Regions from separate parts of the Homo sapiens genome. Here regions 1, 2, 3, 4 and 5 are each linked to region 6. Evidence: promoter capture Hi-C in human tissues and cell types (Jung and others, 2019). All regions are on one chromosome and are shown on one strand. Each heading gives the region's core, a stretch centred on a gene start or on the middle of the fragment in contact. The rest is flanking DNA. Distances are from core to core; before and after follow the strand shown. Region 1 has its middle 100 kb from the start of LINC02123. Region 2 has its middle 120 kb from the start of LINC02196. Region 3 has its middle 120 kb from the start of LINC02123. Region 4 overlaps ADCY2 (adenylate cyclase 2). Region 5 overlaps ADCY2 (adenylate cyclase 2). Region 6 holds the start of ADCY2 (adenylate cyclase 2).

Region 1 (2,930 bases), core at 65-2,564, 150 kb before region 6:
GTGGGAACAAGTAGCCATTGGGGTCAGACAAACATGCATAATGTCTGTATCAAACAAGGCAGAAGTTGCCAAGTTCCAAAGGACAAGCACGACGTGGCAGGGCACTCATGGGAAGCAGAGGCTACCAGTGATTGAGGAGGGGCAGGAAGAGTCTAATGGAAGAAGAGCCATGTTCACCCAATTCTGAATGTGTTTTGGCAGATAAAGAAGTAGGTCCTGGCCGCTTAAAGAAAAAAAAAAAAGGAAGAAGGAATCTTCAATAATAGCTCCAGCAGAGAGAAAGCCATTAGCGGGCTGAGAGCCAGGAGAACTGTGCTGTGAAAACGAACAATAAGAAAAGGCACTGGATTCAGCCACTTTGAGGAATAGCTCCAAAGAGAAGTGAGGGCCCACATTAATTCAATAAGTAGAAGTTTTCAATTTTTACTCCAACATATGTTTCTTGAGCGCCCATTGCATGTTAATCGTTGGGATAGAGTAGAGACAGCGAGCCCTTCTGCTCTGCCTTCCGGAACCTTGTAGTTTGGTGGTTGAGGCAGATGACAGGATCTGCGAGGGGTAATTAAGGAGAAGAGCCAGAGGCCACAGAAGGTGATAGTGAGGGGTCTCATTTGAGCCACATGGGCCACTGAGTGCTTTGATGCTAGGGCTGGTGTGATCCAGGTCACTCCAGTGGACTGGGGTGCGCAAGAATGGAAGGGGGGCACCCAGGATGCTCACAGCAATCCAGGCAAGATGAGAGAATGCCAGAGAGAGAGGCAACTTCGTATATTGAAGGTAGACTTTGGAGATGATTGGTAAATCTTAGCAATGCACGTGAGAGGGTGGGAGAGATTTCTGGGTACGGAGCCTGAGCAGCTAGGGGTGCCATTCTCTGCAAAAGAGATGGCTAAAAAAGGAGCAGTTTGGGGCAGGAAAGAAAATAACAGTAATACTGGAAATAATAAGCAAATCAGGTAAGACCTACCTGGAAGCATTTTTTTTTTTTTTCTGAGCAGTTGGTATCTGTTGTCTCCCTACAACCCCACAGCATCTCCATTTTGCAAAAGAGAAAACTGAAGACAAAGAGGATAGGCAAATGACCTAAGGTCACACACGAGCAGGACAGCCAGATGGCCACCCAGGACATCTGAATTTGTTTTAGGAAACAATGTCTTTGAGATGCATGTGGGAAATGCACATGGAAAGACATAAACATGAGACCCTTCCACATGAGCCAGGAGCTCAGAAGGTGATCTTCACTGCAGACAGACTATTGGCAATCTCTGGTATAAGGAGAAGGCATTTATTGAAGAGTGAGTGAAAGCTGAGTACAAGAGGCAGATATTACAGTGTCTTCTTTCAAGCAGAAAAGGAAAGAAGAGATGAGACGCATCCACAGGGAGTAAGGGAAGGTGGTTCAAGGACAGGGCAGATTAGACAAGATCCCCCTCCACTTCCACAAAGACAGTGGAAGATGCAAGGGTATCATCGAGCTGGAGCCTGAGGACTGCAGAGCATGGAGGGGTGAGGCCGTTGGCTGGGGGCACAGTGAGTGAGGCAGCAGGAGGAAGCTTTAGTCCCAGGCTAGTGTCACCCAGTGCAGGTGGAAGCCGCAGAAGAATCATGGCACAGATGCTCTGAAGAACATCTCAGACTAAGTGAGCACTCTACAAACACAAACTCAGACAAGACCTGCAGCAAACAACAATAAGGAACATCTTCCCCTACTTCATAAGTGAGAGGCATGAGAGCAGGCATCATACATTTGCACTCAAAGCTGTTTCATATTTTCTGAGGATGGTTCCAAGCAGATCTCTCTCTTTACTTCCACAGAAGAAGAAAAATAAATAAATTTCTGATAAGCTGAATTCTAGCAGAGTGTGGGAGAAAGGATGTTTTTTGAAATATTGGGAATAAAAAATATCTATTGCAACCCACGGTCATTAGTTTGTGTGTTTACTTTGGGGACTCTACATAGATATCCTTATGGCTTGAAGTAAGAATGGGATTGAGCCGTTTATTAAGTGCCTGGCTATTTGAGTTTCCAGGAGGAATAACGGCCTATCTAATGTAATGTGCTGGAAGTGGATCCCACATCAGCTGAGGTCAGGAGACCAGAGCACAGTCAATGGGCCCATGGGGAACACTGGGCACTGCACTGTGGACTCCTCCTGTGGTCTTGCGCTGCAGCAAGACCTGATCTCTGGACTCTGATCTTGTGCTACAAAACCTGATGACATCCCATTTCCAACCCCACTTCCTTCTCCTGGGCAGACAAATAAGGCAATTCTCAGTTTCCCCTGCAGCTCTGCTGGGGCTGTGTGATTGAATTCTGGACAACAGAATCTGAATAGATGTAATAGAAGCCAATTTTTAGGTGTGACCATAAGCCCCATTTCCCAGATATCCTCTTTGTCTCTCCCCATTTGCATAGCTGGAAGTCAAGAAGTCCAATATTTCAAAGGAGCACACGAAGCGGGATGGCTGAGTTACAGTTATTTTTTACAACAGGTAAAATCATGCATTTTTCATTAACTGTTCTGCCAATGCTGAAAGTTAAAGTTAAGGACAGCAAGCCCAGAAGCAAGGAGCAGGGGGAGGCTGGGGGATCCAGGGACGGAGGCTGGAGAGCATGGGCAGGTTGGAAAGTCTCAGAGGAGGGAAAATCAGCTGGGATTGCAGCTTGAAGGGTGTGGGAAAGGTTAAGTGCCTCTCAGGGATTTTTTGTATGAAACATTAATTGCTTTCTGATTGTAAAAGGAATACCAGTTCATCACACAGGATTTGGAAGACAATAAAGATATAAAGAAGAAAAATGAAAGCATTGATAAGATCATTACTGAATAGCCACTACCAAGATTTGGTAGTATTTGCTTCAAACATACATGAGCACTGGGAGCTCTCCTGGGGTGGTTTGCAATAACCTGCTTTGCAACCCTAACTGTCTG
Region 2 (3,176 bases), core at 360-2,859, 240 kb before region 6:
CTCAGCCCAGTCTCAAACTCAAGACACTTTTGTAAGCAATAATACCAGCTATTTAGTTCATCCCTAAAGAACTGAGGGTCAGAAGGAGCGAAATCAGAACTGTAAGGTAGATTCCTAATGACTTCCCAGAAAAACTATTGCTAAATTGCCCTTGTTGATGAGAAGACTGAGCAAGAGCATTGTTGTCATGGAGAAGAACTTTACGGTGAAGCTTTCCCAGACGTTTTTCTGCTAACATTTTGGCTTTTTCAAAACACTCTCATAATAAGCAGATGCTATCATTCTTTGGCCCTTCAGAAAGCCAACAAGCAAAACGCCTTGAGCATCACAAAAAACTGTTGCCATGATGTTTGCTCTTGACTGGTCTGCTTTAGCTTTGACTGGACCACTTCTACTTCTTGGTAGCCATTGCTTTGATTTTGCTTTGTCTTCAGGATCATATGAGTAAAGCCTTGTCTCATCTCTTCTTACAATTCTTCAAAGAAAAGCTTCAGCATCTTGATACCACCTGTTTAAAATTTCCATTGAAAGATCTGCTCTTGTCTGCAGTTGACCTGGGCACAATGGTTCTGGCACCCATTGAGTAGAAAGTTGGTTTAACTTTAATTTTTTAACCAGAATGTGTAAACTGAGCCAATTGAGATGTCTATGTTGGCTATTGTTTCTGCTGTTAATCATTGGTGCTCTTCAATTAAGGCATAAAAAGTTAAATTGTTTCCTTGCAAATTGATGTGAATGGTCTGATTCTGTGGGCCGCATTTTCAGCATCATCTTGTGTCTTCTTAAAACAAGCTATCTATTTATAAACTGCTGATTTCTTTGGGACTCTTGCCTCCATAAGCTTTTTGTAAAGTGTCAATGATTTTACCATTCTTCAACCCCAGCTTCACCATAAATTTGGTGTTTGTTTTTGCTCCAGTTTTAGCAGAATTTATGTTGCTTTGGTAGGGAATCTTTTCAAACTGATACCTTATGCTTCCTAATGCCTCAAACTAGATCCTATTCAGTGAGGTAATAACAAGTTAGTATGAGTTTATTTTGGTGCAAAAAATTTTGAAATACGTGCATAGTTTTTTTATAATGCACATTTTCTATGAACTTTTTGAAGCCCTCTTGTTTGTATAGTATCATTTTCCCCATTTTATTGTTTTGTTGTTATACATTTAGGGGATACAAGTGCAGTTTTGTTATACGGATATACTGTGTAGTGGCAAAGTCTGGGCTTTTAGTTGTACCCATTGCCCAAATAATGAACACCGTACTCAGTAGGCAGTTTTCAACCCTCACCTCTCTCCTACCTTCCCAACTTCAGAGCTCCAGTGTCTATTATTTTACTCTGTATGTCCATGTGTACCTATTGTTTAGTTCCCACTTACAGAAGAAAACATGGCATTTGACTTCCCATTTCTGAGTGATTTTACTTAGAATAACGGCCTCTAGTTCCATGCATGATGCTGCAGAAACCATGATTTTGTTATTTTATGGCTGAATACTATTCCATATATATATAATGGAATATGAATTCAGACAAGATTTTTAATAATTCAGACAAAATTTATATATATATTTTCTTTACCAAATCTCTGTTGATGGACACTTAGGTTGATTCCAAGATTTTGCAATTGTGAATAGGGCTGTGATATACTCTTTTCCATAAAGATTGTACTAATATACATTCCCACAAATGGTGTACAGTTGTTCCCTTTTCTCTGCACACTCCCCAACATCTGTTGTCTTTAGACTTTATAATAATAGTCATTCTGACTGGTGGAAGGAGAAATCTCATTGTAGTTTTAATTTGCATTTCTCTGATGATTAGTAATGTTGAGCATTTTTTCTTATGTTTGTTAGCTGCTTGAATGTCTTCTTTTGAAAAATGTCTTTTCATGTCTTTTGCCTGCTTTTTAATAGGGTTTTTTTTTCTTGTTGAGTAGTTTGAGTTCCTTGTACATTCTGGATATTAGGGCTTTGTTGGATGAATAGTTTGTAAATATTTTCTCCAGTTCTGTAGGTTGTCTGTTTACTCTGTTGATTATTTCTTTTGCTTTGCAGAAGCTTTATTTTAACTAAGTCTCATTTGCCTATTTTTATATTTGTTGCACTTGCTTTTGAGGTCTTGGTCATAAATTACCTGCCTATGCCAATGTCCAGAAGAATTTTTCCTAGGTTTTCTTCTGGAATTTTTATAGTTTCGGGTATTACATTTAAGTATTTAATCCATCTTGAGTTAATTTTTGTATATAGTTAGAGATAGGGATCTAGTTTCATTCTTCTGCACATGGTTATCCAGTTTTCCCAACACTGTTTATTAAATAGGGTGTCCTTTGCACAAGGTATCCTTCAACTTAGTTGAATATCCGTTGGTTGAGGGTATGTGGCTTTATTTCTGGGTTTGCTATTCTGTTCCACCGATTTATGTGTCTATTTTTATGCACAGTATCATGCTGTTTTGATTACTGTAGCCTTGTAGTATAATTTATAGTCAGGTAATGTAATGCCTTCCATATTGTTCTTTTTGCTTAGGATTGCTTTGGCTATTCAGGCTCTTTTATGATTCCATATAAATTTTAGAATTGTTTCTTCTAATTCTGTGAAAAATGACACTAGTAATTTGATAGAAATTGCATTGAATCTGTGGATGGCTTTGGATAATATGGTCATTTTAATGATATTGATTCTTTCAATCCATGAGCATGGAATGATTTTCCATTTGTTTGTGTCATCCACTATTACTTTCATCAGTGTTTTGTAGTTCTTCTCATAGAGATCTTTCACCTACTTGGTTAAATGTATTTCTAGTGATTTTATTGTTTTGTAGCTATTGTAAATGGGATGAGCTTTTGTTTTGGTTCTGAGCATGATCTTTATTGATGTATAAAAATACCATTGATTTTGTATCCTGAAACTTTACTGAAGTCATTTATAAAACTTAGGAGTCTGTTGGAGGAGTCTTTGGAGTTTTCTAGGTATAAGATTGTATCATGGAGCAAACAGTAACTCTTATTTCTTTCACTTGCTAGATTGCTCTAGTTAAAACTTCTAGTACTATGTTGAATAGGAGTGGTGAAAGCTAGCATTCTTATCTTGCTCCAGTTCTTGGGGGAATGCTTTCAGCTTTTCCCCATTTAATATGATATTGGCTGTGGATTTGTCATGTATACGTTTTATTAATTTAA
Region 3 (2,910 bases), core at 241-2,740, 170 kb before region 6:
TTTCACCTACTTTGAAGTGCTTGTGTTACGGGCGTACACATATATTATCATTCTGCCTTCTTAGAAGATTAAATCCTTTATTATTGTGTAATGTCTCTTTTTATCCCTGACCATACTTTTGTTCTGAAGAGAACTTTGTATGAAATCAATATAGCTGCTCCAAGTTTCTTTTGATTGGTGTTTATCTGGTATATTTTTTCCTATATTTAAATTTTCACTTACCCATGTGTTTATACTTAGAGTGAGTTTCTTGTATAGCACATAATTGAGTCTTGTTTTTATTTTATCTGACAGTATTTTTACTTAGCTTGTTAAGACAACGTACATTTAATGTAATTACTGATATTTTCATTAAAACACACCATATTGTTAGCTGTTTTCTATTTGTTCCATCTCCTACTTCCTTTATCTTTTCCTGCCCTCTCTTGGGTTTTTTGAGCAATTTTTATGGTTCCATTTTTATTTCTATTGTTGAGTTATTATTTATAACTGTTCATGTTTTTGATAGTTAGCTTAGGGTTTAAAATGTAGATCCTTACATAATAAGAGTCTATATTCAATTAATATTACATGTCTTTATGTGTAGTATAAAAACAATAAAAGTGTATATTCCAAATCCTTCCTTCTTACCATTTGTGATGTTGTTGCCTTACAGTTCACTTTTACATATACTATGAACACATCACACAGTGCTACAATTTTTGCTTTACACAGTTATTATTCAGAGCAATTCAGAGGAAAAAGAAAATAAAAAAACATGAATTTCATAACACATTGATTACATTTTCCACATTCTTTTACTTTGTAGATTCAAGTTTTCACCCAGTATTGTATTTCTTCTGCCTTGCAGAGCTGACGTTACCACTTCTTGTAAAGTGGGTCTGCTGGCAATGAATTCTCTTGAGTTTTTGTCTAAGAAAGTATTTATCTTACATTTTTGAGGGATATTTTCACAGAGCATTAAATTCTGTATTGACAAACCTTATTTTCTTTCAGCACTTTGAAGTCATCAATGCTTTTTTTTTTTTTTACTTTCATGGTTTCTGACAAGAATTCTGCTGAAATTCTTATCTTTATTCCTTTATATGTCATTTTTCATGCCTTTCTCTTTATCTTTTGTTTACAACAATTTGAAAATGTGTCTAGACGTTTCGTGTTTGTTTTATATTTTAGCATATATTCTGCAGAAGGTTTCTGAGTTTCATGGGTCTGTGGTTTGATGTCTGAAAATCACTTAGGAAAATTGTCAGACATTGTTTCCTAAAATATTTCTTACACACTATTTTCTCTTTTCCTTCTGAGTTTCCAGTGATGCACATAACCAATGATATTTTTTATAGCTTTTGGATGCCCCTTTCTTTTTACTTTTCAGTCTTTTTCTCTGTGTTTCAGTTGAGTAATTTTATTGACATATTGTCAGGTACACTGATCCACCTCTTAGCTGTGTTATGGGCCCATTGAAAGCATTCTGCATCTCTGTTACAGTGTTTTCCATTTGTCACATTTCTATTTGAGTTTTTCTTACAGTTTCCACCTCTTTGCTAATATTATTCATCGATCTTTCATGGTATATACTTTTTCTGTTGGAAAATTCAACATATTAATAATAGTTATTTAAAATTTTTGGTCAGTTACTATCTATGTCTTATCTGAGTCTGGTTTTGTTTACTGTTTAGTATCTTGGGGAATTTATTGCTTTTTTTTTTTTTTTTGCCTGAAAGACATCTAGAATACTTCAACACTGGGTAAACAGTTCTATGTACACCTTTCCTTTTGCTCATTCATTCCTGTGGTGGGTTTTGTTAATCTAGTCAAAAGATCGGGATAATTTTTTTTTTTTTTTGTAAAGAGGCAACTAGTAAATATTTTAGGGTTGTGGGCCATTGGATCACCACAGCTCTGCCACTGTCTCATGAAAGTGGCCTCAGACAATACATAAAATGTGGGTATGGCCATGCCCCAGTGAAACTTTATTTATCAAGTAGGCAGGGTAGGCATTTGCCTTGTGAGCCATGTTTTGCTGATCCTTGATCCAGTCAGCAGTTGTGCTGGGCTTGAGGTTTCTTGTTGCTGTGTTTACCTTCAGAGTATTGCAGGCTTCAAACTCTCCTAGCAATACCTTGGGTTTGGTATGGAGTCTGAGTTTCTAGAGGTTTCTTCTCAAAGTCTGCCCCATCTTCAGCTTTACGTATCCCTTTTCCCTGATCCTCAGGGAGAGCCTGTCTCATGCATGCTTCCTAGTAATGTTTCAATATTACTTTTAACTGATGCTTATTTGCTGCCCTGGGATGGACGGAGTTCTGATGTCCTGATTATCCCTTGGTCTTACAGCTTGTATCCCTGGGTCTCATGGCCTCCACAAGAACCATGCCTCTTCTCCAGCTGGAGGTTTGGATCTGATATGTATTCTCACCCCTCCTCCAGGGCTGACAGTCTTTATTCTCTTCCCTTCCCTCAGCTGCAAGACAGTTCTGTTGCCCATCTTACCCCCCAGCAGATGACAACTTTATTGTGATGGGAAAATGGGGCAGAGGGATCCAGGTTGATTTTTGCATCACCTTTCTATGCCCCCCGGCATCTTTGTCAGGACTCCACAGTCTTCCCTGGAGCATCTGGTGGAGTTTGTGGTGAAAGATCTTCATGAAGATGCAACTCCCCACCCCCACCCCAATTATTTGCATCCCCCAGGTGCAGCACAGGCTCTCACCAGCCTGCATTTGGCCTTCACCAGGATTCATTGACTATTTCTACAGAACTCTACTAACTGGGTCCAGATGCATCTGAGCCAGGGCAGCAGGTGCTGGAGTCTCATCTCTTTCTATGGACACTGGTTCCTCCCTAGAATTTGAGTTCTTTAGTTGCTCTGTGACCTCAGCTCTCTGATGGGTGCAACTCAATCATCAGGAACTT
Region 4 (2,963 bases), core at 257-2,756, 140 kb after region 6:
GCTAAGTTTGAACTGTTGCTAATGATATTAACATGACCCATAGAAAGTATCGTGGCTGGTGTGTGATTCCAAGCAGCCCCCGCGATGTTTGTCTCTGGAACAATAGAGATCACCTAACTTTAGCTATTTAACCAGTCAGAGAAGGTCGCCATTTTGATTTCCTATTAATATGGAATAAAAGGCATTTTCAAAAATACTATAGGAGATGCTGAGGGCATTAATTGGAAGTAAACTGTCCTACATCTAGCTCAAGAAGTTTTGTCAGTGCAGTATTTTACTGCTGCAAGCTGTGGCTTATAAAACTCTGATGTAAGGCTTATTAACAGGTTGAAGACTGTGTTTCCTGATTTAGTACAAAGGAGTTTCTCTGAGGCAAAGCTGGGCTTTCTTCTGGCCAATCCTCCAGACTTTCCCTGCTGAAGATTATCCAGACCTTTATGGGGTGGAAGTCCTATATTGCAGACATGGGGGTGCCCCCAGTGGAACACATTTCCACCCTCAGACCAATCGTGTAGGGCAGATTTGGCCATTACAGTACTGGAGATGATAGTCGTTTAGACAGGGGTGGATGGATCCCAGCCAAGAACAAGAGGCGACTTGAAACTCTCACCTGTGCAGGTGGAGTGCACCACTCGTCACTGTCATCCCCCCCACATGCCCCAGAGTCGGTTCAGGAACAGTGGGGTCAGTTGATTCTCACCTTGATTGATTGCCTCCCTTGAAGAATTTTCTCAGATGACTTTAGGAACTGGGATCTTACCCATGCAATACCTCAATATATCATTGCAAATTAGTTTCCCAACATTTTTAGTTCTTTTTGTTGCTTGATCTTCTGTATATCAAAACCCATTCTAGATTTTTGACTCAGCTGGAGTTTACCTTTACCTACTTACCTAGCAGTGTTTTTCATTCTCAGCGAACTATCACAGAAAACCAAACACCACATGTTCTCACTCATAAGTGGGAGTCGAACAAGGAGAACACAGGGACACAGGGAGGGGAACATCACACACCGGGGCTTGTCAGGGGGTGGGGGGCTAGGGGAGGGATAGCATTAGGAGAAATACCTAATGTAGGTGATGGGTTGATGGGTGCAGGAATAGTTTTTTTCTTATAAATAAGGTTTCACGTTGATCTAACATATTTAGAGTAAGAACAGTCATTTCTAATCAAAATTTGACTTAAAGTAATCAATAAATCACAGTTATTTACTGTCTTTAATTCTGTATATCCTATAGAAATAAAAGAATTTTGTGGATTTTGATTAAAAGTCTCACTGACTGTGTAGAAATTTTATTCTGGTTTTAGATTCTTATAGGAAATCTTACAAACTATTTTGAACTTACATTTTGGACCAATTTAAAATTCTCATTTCTTATTTACTATGTTTTAAAATCTAATATTCATAACATCTGCAAAGTAAAAACATTTCCATTTAATTACAGGACTTTTGATTTATACATAATTTAAAATTCATTTTTATTCCTGGCTCCAGGTTTCAATACATGTTTGTCTTAAGTGTTAGAAAACTCATTGTCTCCACTTCAGTGTCCCATAAGCTTTCAAATTAAGCATTTCCCAAAGTCAACTCAGTATTTTCCTGCTCAAGTGTCCTCTGTCTCTGTAGATGGCACCACCATCCTCTGTACTTCCCAGCCTTTCAATGGAGACCCACTTGTCGCCTCCTCCATCACACTCACCCCTCCATCTTGTTAGGCACCAGATTCTGTTTATTGCACATTCTTTGCTGTCCTCCCAAGTCACTTTCCTGCTATTCATCCTCTGCCTCTGCCCTGGGTCAGAATGCATCACTTACTGCCTGGGGAGCTGCGGGAACCCCCAGCCTCATCCTTTGCTTTCCAGGTGCTCATTCTAAAACTCAAGTCTGCCTTTAGAATCCTTCAATAGCTTTCTAGTACCTGCAGAACAAAGTAGTCCACATCTCTTGGTGCGGCATGCAAGGCCCTGTAGGACATGGCCCTGCAGCCTCCACAGCCTGGCCCCTCCCTTCCCTTGCATGGATTCTGAGCTCTGCAGATGCTGGGCTCCTCACAGGGCCCTGATTGTGCTTGGCCATTCCTCTCCTCACTGTTGTTAAGTCTGTTCTATCTCCATCTGGGGCATGCCAGCACTGTCACCTGGCCAGTGCCTAGGTGTCACCCACAGAAAGTCTTTGATAGCCCACGAGCCTATCCCAGGAGCTCACATTCGAGCTCTCAGAGCAGTCATAATTCTCCTCTCACCTGAATAACACTGGACTCTCTTTCCTGACTCCATCTACCCTGGGAGCTCCGTGAGGGAAGGAACTTTGTCTTTGATCTCGGGTACATAGCAGATACTGCTTACTGGTCAGACATAATATAAAATATTTTTTGTTGACTCTCCCAGAATAAAAATACATGTTTCCCTTTTTCAAAGATAGCATGATCCATAATAGAAACAGCTTTAATTTTGGAGCCAGGAAGACTTGAGCTCCAATCCCAGTTCTGCATGAATTGGTTGTATGAATTTTAGTAAGTGATTTAGCTTCTCTGGCCATCTGTTTACTTATCGGTAAAAGAGGACCAATAATGGAATACGACTGAGGATTAGGGATTGGGAGTATGTAATTCCCAGCTAAATGCTTGGCTCATGTTAAGTGTCCAATAAACGGTGGCTGTTTATTAGGTTATGGCTTTCTTTCTCTCTGGCTTATTTTTTGTTTATTTTTCAGTAACACACACATTATCAGCCTTTAAGGTTAGGAAAGAACTTCTGCTTGAAATATTTAAATGGGAGAAAACATTTGAGTTTTCTCATTTAAACTTTAACATTTTAAATGTTAATACATTTAAACATCAAGCAAGATATCCCATAATGGTTTTCTAGAACAGCTAATTGATTAATCATATAAACCTTAATGGGAAGAAATGCAACATTATGTCAATTAGATCAACAGTTAAATGTCCAAAACTGCAGAAACC
Region 5 (3,156 bases), core at 208-2,707, 170 kb after region 6:
GTTAAAACTGATACTTCAGGAATTTGTGTCCTTTTTCCTTTAATTACCAATGAAGCTGACATTTTCTTCAAGGGCTGTGTTCTTCTTTGTAGTTCTTTTTGTGTAAACTTTGATCTTCTGGCCTTCTTTCTAGCTGTATAGCTTCCTTTGTTTGTGTGAAGTATAAATTTTTTCTCAATTTTTCAGCCATGAAGTAATGGACTGGGTGTGAGTCTAAGTTAATATGGTTGTGTTGAGTTTAGCTTTATTTAAGCAGTTTGGAAATTCAAACTCTACCAGTCATATTTATTTCTGATGTTTCCCAATTCCTGTTTGGTCTTGGTTTTCTTGGGCTTCACTGTATAGAAGTACATAACATTTATATAATTGCCTCATTTCCGTATTTATTCAACACACATTTTCTTATTTGGTCAGCATCTATGAAAGAATTCAGTATGTTAGATCACAGAAACACAAGAAAAATCTAACCTACACTGAATTATCAAAAAGCAATGGATGTACAAAGCTGAGATGCAACAAAGTGCTCTGTCGTCCTCTCTTTCTCTCTCTCTCTCTCTCTCTCTCTCTCTCTCTGTCAGATGTCTTCTGTCTTTAACTGCCTTCTTGTTGTGTGCTCACCTTTTTCATTAGAGCTGGTTCTATCCATTTAAGAGAAAACAACATTCTGGGTTTTGTTTTTAATAGTTTGTGATCTGATTTTTAGAAATATTTCACTTTTTGTTCATTTGGCACTCAATGTAGTATGGAATGAGAGCTCAAAATCAAACTACAGCTTTCCTTTTATTCACACACATTTCTCCAGCAGCATTTATTTCATAGCCAGTTCATGTCCACGTGGTCCTGGCAGTCCTAATTGATATTATATTAACTGATTTAAATATCTTGGGCTCTAATCTTTGGCACTCCAGCCTTTCAGTCTTGATACGGTTTAATCAGATGCATACCTCTTAATTAATCCTTAGTAAGATATATTTAAAAGAAAGTTGAAGAAGCATATGGTATTATCCTTAATGATGGTAAAATAATTAGCTGTTTGACAGCCCTTTTTTTTTTAAAGTTATTTCTCTTGGGTCATGGAAATTTTGTTGTATGAGTGCTTTGTCTCACTTCCAGAGGTGTTCCATAGTTTAATGGTGGAATTTCTCACTGGGAGTGAAAACAGAGTCCAAGATGGGAGGTGTTGATGCATGACCATAGTGTTGGCTTCTAATAAAGGCAATGGTTTCACACCAGATAGGCTGTTTGCTGCTGCTGCTACCAGAACTGGAATTTTCCCCTTCTTGGAGATAAAATACGGCACTTTAGAATTTTCTAGTTAAATCAAAAATTCACCACCTCTCCTCACAGCACAGTGCATAACCAAGGTGAAATTTTATTTCATTCTATTCAACTGACAACTGTTCTAGAAAATGTCTTATTCTTTGTAGCCGCGTAGCTTTCCTTGCATGTGAAGTACATTTTTTTTCCTCAGTTTGTCAGCCATGATGACATGGAGCTGCATGAGTCTAAGTGAACATCTGTAGACTTCCCATCTTTTCCAATTAAACTGGGCAGTAAAACCTGCAGTGTCTGTACATGGGCTGTTTGTCAAATAGACTAACAACTATGGTAGACTGCAATGTGCTACTGAAACAGAAGCTATTTTGCATTAAGAGGTTTATTCTACTTAGTAGCTATAGATGAAGAGCTCATCATGCAGGATCCATATGGCCTCATGGAGGGATAGAGATGGAAATGAGCAACCCAGTTCAGTGTAGGGCATGATGTGAGCAAGGCACTACGGACACCAAAGAAAGAACTTTTCAACACCTAAGCAACACCTAAGGCAGGTGGGGATGGTTCCAAAGCAGAGGATACCGCAGGACAGAATCTGGATAACAGAGAGATCTAAGAATGCAGGTGTGTTCAGGAATCTCACACCTGCTAAGGGTGGGTTGACCTGGCTGTTGGATGTGGATGAGTGCTTGAGGCTTGAAAAAGACTTGGGCCAAATCATGAAAAACACACATAGTTCATCCAAAATAATTTGGCCTTCATTATGGGCACTAAAGAGATAATTAATTGCTTTAAACAATGTAAGGATATGATCCAGGATTGCTGAGGAACATGCCTATTCACCTGTCATCGACACACTCCACAGCTGCTGCCCTAGAGGTTTATTTAGGGTTCTTCAGTTACCAGGGTACTCCAGATAGTTAGCTCCCTAATTTCCCTCCAACCCTAGGTCACCAAGCCAGTTGGAATATACAAGACTTTTTCATATTCCATTTGCCTAACTTCTTGCCTAATCATTCCTCTGAACTGTGGCCTCAGTATGACTCTGACTTCCTGAGCTCCAAGCCCATAGTTGAAATGGTGAACTGCTCAGGCTTAAGAGAGACAGAAAGATTGGTTTTCTGCCTTTGGAGAAGGAAAGAAGACTGATGTAATTGACCCAACTGGGGTTACTGAGCATTGAATCTCAACTTAATTTAGCTGTGCTGTTTCAGTCTTCTACTCACACGTGTATGGGAAAGTTCATTGTGGTTTGAAAATGAATTTTCAATGGATAAACATTAATTAATTATTAAACCATTAATAATCTTGAAAGTGCAAGGGACCTTACATATCTTTTAAACCAGTATCATTGATTTTCTAAAAGGAAACTGATTGACTGAATGACTAGATTAAGGTCACACAATCACTATAAGTGTAACCCTATGACTTCTGCTTGAAAATTTCACTTAAGCTTTTCCCTGAATGATTAAATTTCCAATCAGATCATAATTGGGATTTGTTGAGGGGCTGTGACTACAAATTCTGACAGTCACATATTTCTAGGGGCAAAATGAAAACATAGAAAATCTTAGATCAAGCCACTGGTTGGTGCCTTGACTTTTGGACCAGAACAGCTGAACTGTGTGTTAAATATCATCATGAGAAACTTAAATGGACCAACTAAAATATTTTAACATCCTATAATTTTGTTGTAATAAATGCAGTTTAAAAACCTTTTTTTCTTCAACATTTCATGTAACCACTGAAATTTAAACTTCTGTAAGTCTAGGCAACATTGAGCAGGTATTCCCTCTTAATTCAGTATGACGTGAGAAAGTGAAGCAGTGTTTTGTCGCCTCTGGACATGGGTAGGAGTGACTAAAAGTGGACCAGAAATGA
Region 6 (2,873 bases), core at 119-2,618:
GGGGAGGAGGTGGGATTTGGGGGCTCTTTGGGCCGGACCACACTCGAATAGGAGGAAACTTCCAGAAGGGTGGGTTCCTTTGGTGATAAGCAATGAAGCCCCTTCGGCCCCCAGGGCGAAGGCCAGCGGCCTCCGCTCCCACGCGTGTCGGGAGGGGACACTGTCCCTGGTGACATCCGCCCCCACAACGCTCCTGCCGGGTCTCTAGCGCCTCCTGCGTCCAGGCCCCCAAGGTGACAGGGAGGGAGCTACTCCCAGGGCCGACCCGCCCGCTCCCGCGCCCAGCCGCTCTCCCCGGCGCCCCTTTGCCGCCATCCCCGCTCAGCAGAGGGGCTCGGCGAGGACCACGACCAGCCACGGGGCAGCTCTGTAAACCTGTGATATGACAGGCTTATACGGCACCTCCAAAGTGTGACTGAAGCTGAGCGTGCAGGGCGCAACGGACGCTGCCCCCGCGAGGCCGTGGCGGGGGCTCCCAGTGCAGTCACTGCCGCTTCACTTCCACATGGTGCCGGTCTCCAGTTAGGTCCCCTGGCGTTTCCGCGCCCTGCCGCCCTCGCAGGGAGCCCCGGCCCTCTCAAGAGGGTGGAGAGGATGGGGGAGCCCTCAACCCTGCTACGCTGAGGGGAAGAAGGGCTGGACGGCAAACCGGTGCCCACCGCGGGGAGGCGGGAAGGGTGGGAAATCCTCTCCAGCTCCCCAAAAGAGTGAAAAGGAGGGAGACCCCGCTGTCCTCTGACCCGCGTACTAAAGGAGGGACCCCCCGGGTCCTCTGACCCCGGCTGCGCTCTGTGACTGTGGGGGAGGGTGGGAGCAGGCCCCGCAGCCCACTAAGGGGTGGAGGAAACAGGAGGGTGGCAGCGTCCCTGCCCGCTGACCTTGAGGTAGTGGAGAGGAGCTGAGGAGCCCCGCAGTGCTCCGAGCCAGGTGGGGCGGGGGGAGTGGTGGGGGTAGGACTCCCTCCCTCCACCCCTTAGGCTGTGTTCTCACTTCGTAGCGGGGAGGGCCGTCCCTCCCACCCCACCCACGCTGCACTCGGGATAGGGCAGAGGAGGTGGACGACCTGGTGGCTGAGTGTGGGAGGCCGGCGGGCGAGGACGACCCCGGGCCGGGGCGCAGCGGGAGCCCCTCAGTTCGCCACTCCCCCCACCGTACAGCCCCCGCCGTCCCCAGCCTGCAGCCGGGCCGTCGGGTGGGGGCCGACACCGCCCCTGCACGGAGGCCGGCTGCGCGCGGGGCGGGGAGCGGCGGGCGGAGGGCCCCGTGGAACCCGCCCCCTCCCGCGCGGTGGCGGTGGCGGCGGCGGCGCCGGGAGCTGCCCCCGAGGCCGCCGCCCGGCCCCCGCCCGCGCGTCAGCGCGCCCAGCCCGGGGCGCCGAGCTCCGCCCGCGCCGGAGGCCCCTGCGCGCAGCTCCGGGTGCCGGCAGCCGGGCCGGCCGAGGCGGCGCGGGGGTGGGACGCGGGCGGCCGCGGCGAGCGGCGCTGCCCGGGCCGGGCGCGCACGGCGGGCGCCCTGTGAGCGGCCCCGATGTGGCAGGAGGCGATGCGGCGCCGCCGCTACCTGCGGGACCGCTCCGAGGAGGCGGCGGGCGGCGGAGACGGGCTGCCGCGGTCCCGGGACTGGCTCTACGAGTCCTACTACTGCATGAGCCAGCAGCACCCGCTCATCGTCTTCCTGCTGCTCATCGTCATGGGCTCCTGCCTCGCCCTGCTCGCCGTCTTCTTCGCGCTCGGGCTGGTGAGTGGCCTCCCCGCGGGTCCAGCGCCGCGCCTTCCCCGGCCCTGAGAGGAGCCCGGCCAGCCGAGCCGCGTCCCGCTCCGGGCTGCCCCTCGGCCCGCGGCAGCCCCTCGGCCCGCGGCAGCCCCTCGGCCCGCGGCTCCCTGCTTCTCCTGCTGGCCCGCGGCCCGGTGGACTCTGGCAAGGGCTGCGGGCGGGAGAAAAGTTTCCTGGGAAGGCTCTTCCCAAAATAAAGTTCCCGAGGTGTTCACCAGGTGGACGGGCAGGGCGTGTGCTTTTTGCATCTTTGCGCACCCGCTGGCAAACTCTGCGCTTTCCGCCGGGCACCGCTGCCCGCAGCGCTGGAATAGGTCTTCCCCGACTCAGCCCTGGGCTTCCTGGGCGAGTCGCTGTCTCCTGCCCGGTTCCACTGGCATGGCCCCACAGTTGGCATTTTAGTTGGGATTGGGCGTTATTCAACTCTGCAGAAAGCCTGCCTTGGGAAAGTGGTTAATGACAAGGAAAATGAAGAAGAAAAATTAAGTATACATCTTTGCCTTTAAATCTGTATGCATTTAGCTCTTTAGCCCGATAGACGGAAAGTGATGTGGTGTTGACTTGTGAATCAATCTTTCATCTCAGAGACTACAGTTAAGAAGCGTTTGGGACGGACGATTGCTTTCCCGTTTCTAAAGAAGTAACGTGTTTAGGGTTTTGGACAGGTTATTAAAGTGGATTTCATCACGAGGAGTATAATGCAGCTCAACAGCTGATGTCAGTTTTGCCAGTTTATATTTTTCAAGCAGAAATCCTTGGCTCGCTCCCTTGAAAAGTGAGGGGAAGTCTGTAGATGGCGATAACTTCCTGTTACTGATCTCTGAGTGTGTGGTTCAAACTTTTGCACTGCCTGTGACATGCATGTGCAGATTTTGTGCGAGGCATTGATTATCCACCAGTGAGTTTTTTTTTTTTTTTTTTTTTTTTTTTTAGTCAGTGGTTGATCTGTGAATGTGTCCACTGGGTGATGTATTTTGAGCTTAGAATATAAATATGTGCCTATATTTATATGTGTCCACCACCAAAGAAGTGGATTTTGCTTATATTTCACCATGCATAAAATAGCTGTCCTTGGTATTTGGCAATTTGTTTAGGATGTC

Evidence for each region. The method cuts DNA at HindIII sites, captures the fragments that hold promoters and counts their contacts. A contact is called where the count stands out against the background at its distance.
Region 1: a contact is called between a fragment that was not itself captured here and the fragment with the promoter of ADCY2 in region 6, in 1 of the 25 tissues and cell types used here (mesendoderm cells).
Region 2: a fragment that was not itself captured here is called in contact with the fragment with the promoter of ADCY2 in region 6 in 2 of the 25 tissues and cell types used here (hippocampus and mesendoderm cells).
Region 3: a contact is called between a fragment that was not itself captured here and the fragment with the promoter of ADCY2 in region 6, in 2 of the 25 tissues and cell types used here (hippocampus and mesendoderm cells).
Region 4: a contact is called between a fragment that was not itself captured here and the fragment with the promoter of ADCY2 in region 6, in 4 of the 25 tissues and cell types used here (adrenal gland, dorsolateral prefrontal cortex, hippocampus and 1 more).
Region 5: a fragment that was not itself captured here is called in contact with the fragment with the promoter of ADCY2 in region 6 in 1 of the 25 tissues and cell types used here (dorsolateral prefrontal cortex).

Annotation. Positions count from the first base shown.
Region 1 is chr5:7,242,239-7,245,168 of GRCh38, forward strand. No RefSeq gene overlaps it. Among named protein-coding and RNA genes, the nearest start is that of LINC02123, 100 kb to the right of the region's middle. The HindIII fragment of the contact is 4,921 bases long and covers 1-2,930 here.
Region 2 is chr5:7,151,974-7,155,149 of GRCh38, forward strand. No RefSeq gene overlaps it. Among named protein-coding and RNA genes, the nearest start is that of LINC02196, 120 kb to the left of the region's middle. The HindIII fragment of the contact is 4,643 bases long and covers 1-3,176 here.
Region 3 is chr5:7,222,311-7,225,220 of GRCh38, forward strand. No RefSeq gene overlaps it. Among named protein-coding and RNA genes, the nearest start is that of LINC02123, 120 kb to the right of the region's middle. The HindIII fragment of the contact is 5,643 bases long and covers 1-2,910 here.
Region 4 is chr5:7,535,799-7,538,761 of GRCh38, forward strand. The region is part of intron 3 of ADCY2 (adenylate cyclase 2); the gene reads left to right. Among named protein-coding and RNA genes, the nearest start is that of ADCY2, 140 kb to the left of the region's middle. The HindIII fragment of the contact is 7,014 bases long and covers 1-2,963 here.
Region 5 is chr5:7,567,390-7,570,545 of GRCh38, forward strand. All of the region lies in intron 3 of ADCY2 (adenylate cyclase 2), which reads left to right. Among named protein-coding and RNA genes, the nearest start is that of ADCY2, 170 kb to the left of the region's middle. The HindIII fragment of the contact is 4,173 bases long and covers 1-3,156 here.
Region 6 is chr5:7,394,770-7,397,642 of GRCh38, forward strand. It overlaps ADCY2 (adenylate cyclase 2), which reads left to right and starts at 1,369. Exons shown (of 25, transcript NM_020546.3): 1 at 1,369-1,737. The coding sequence starts at 1,528. It overlaps LOC107986403 (a long non-coding RNA gene), which reads right to left and starts at 1,180. Exons shown (of 2, transcript XR_001742597.2): 1 at 1-1,180. RefSeq lists enhancers at 1-684, 685-1,450. The HindIII fragment of the contact is 8,449 bases long and covers 1-2,873 here.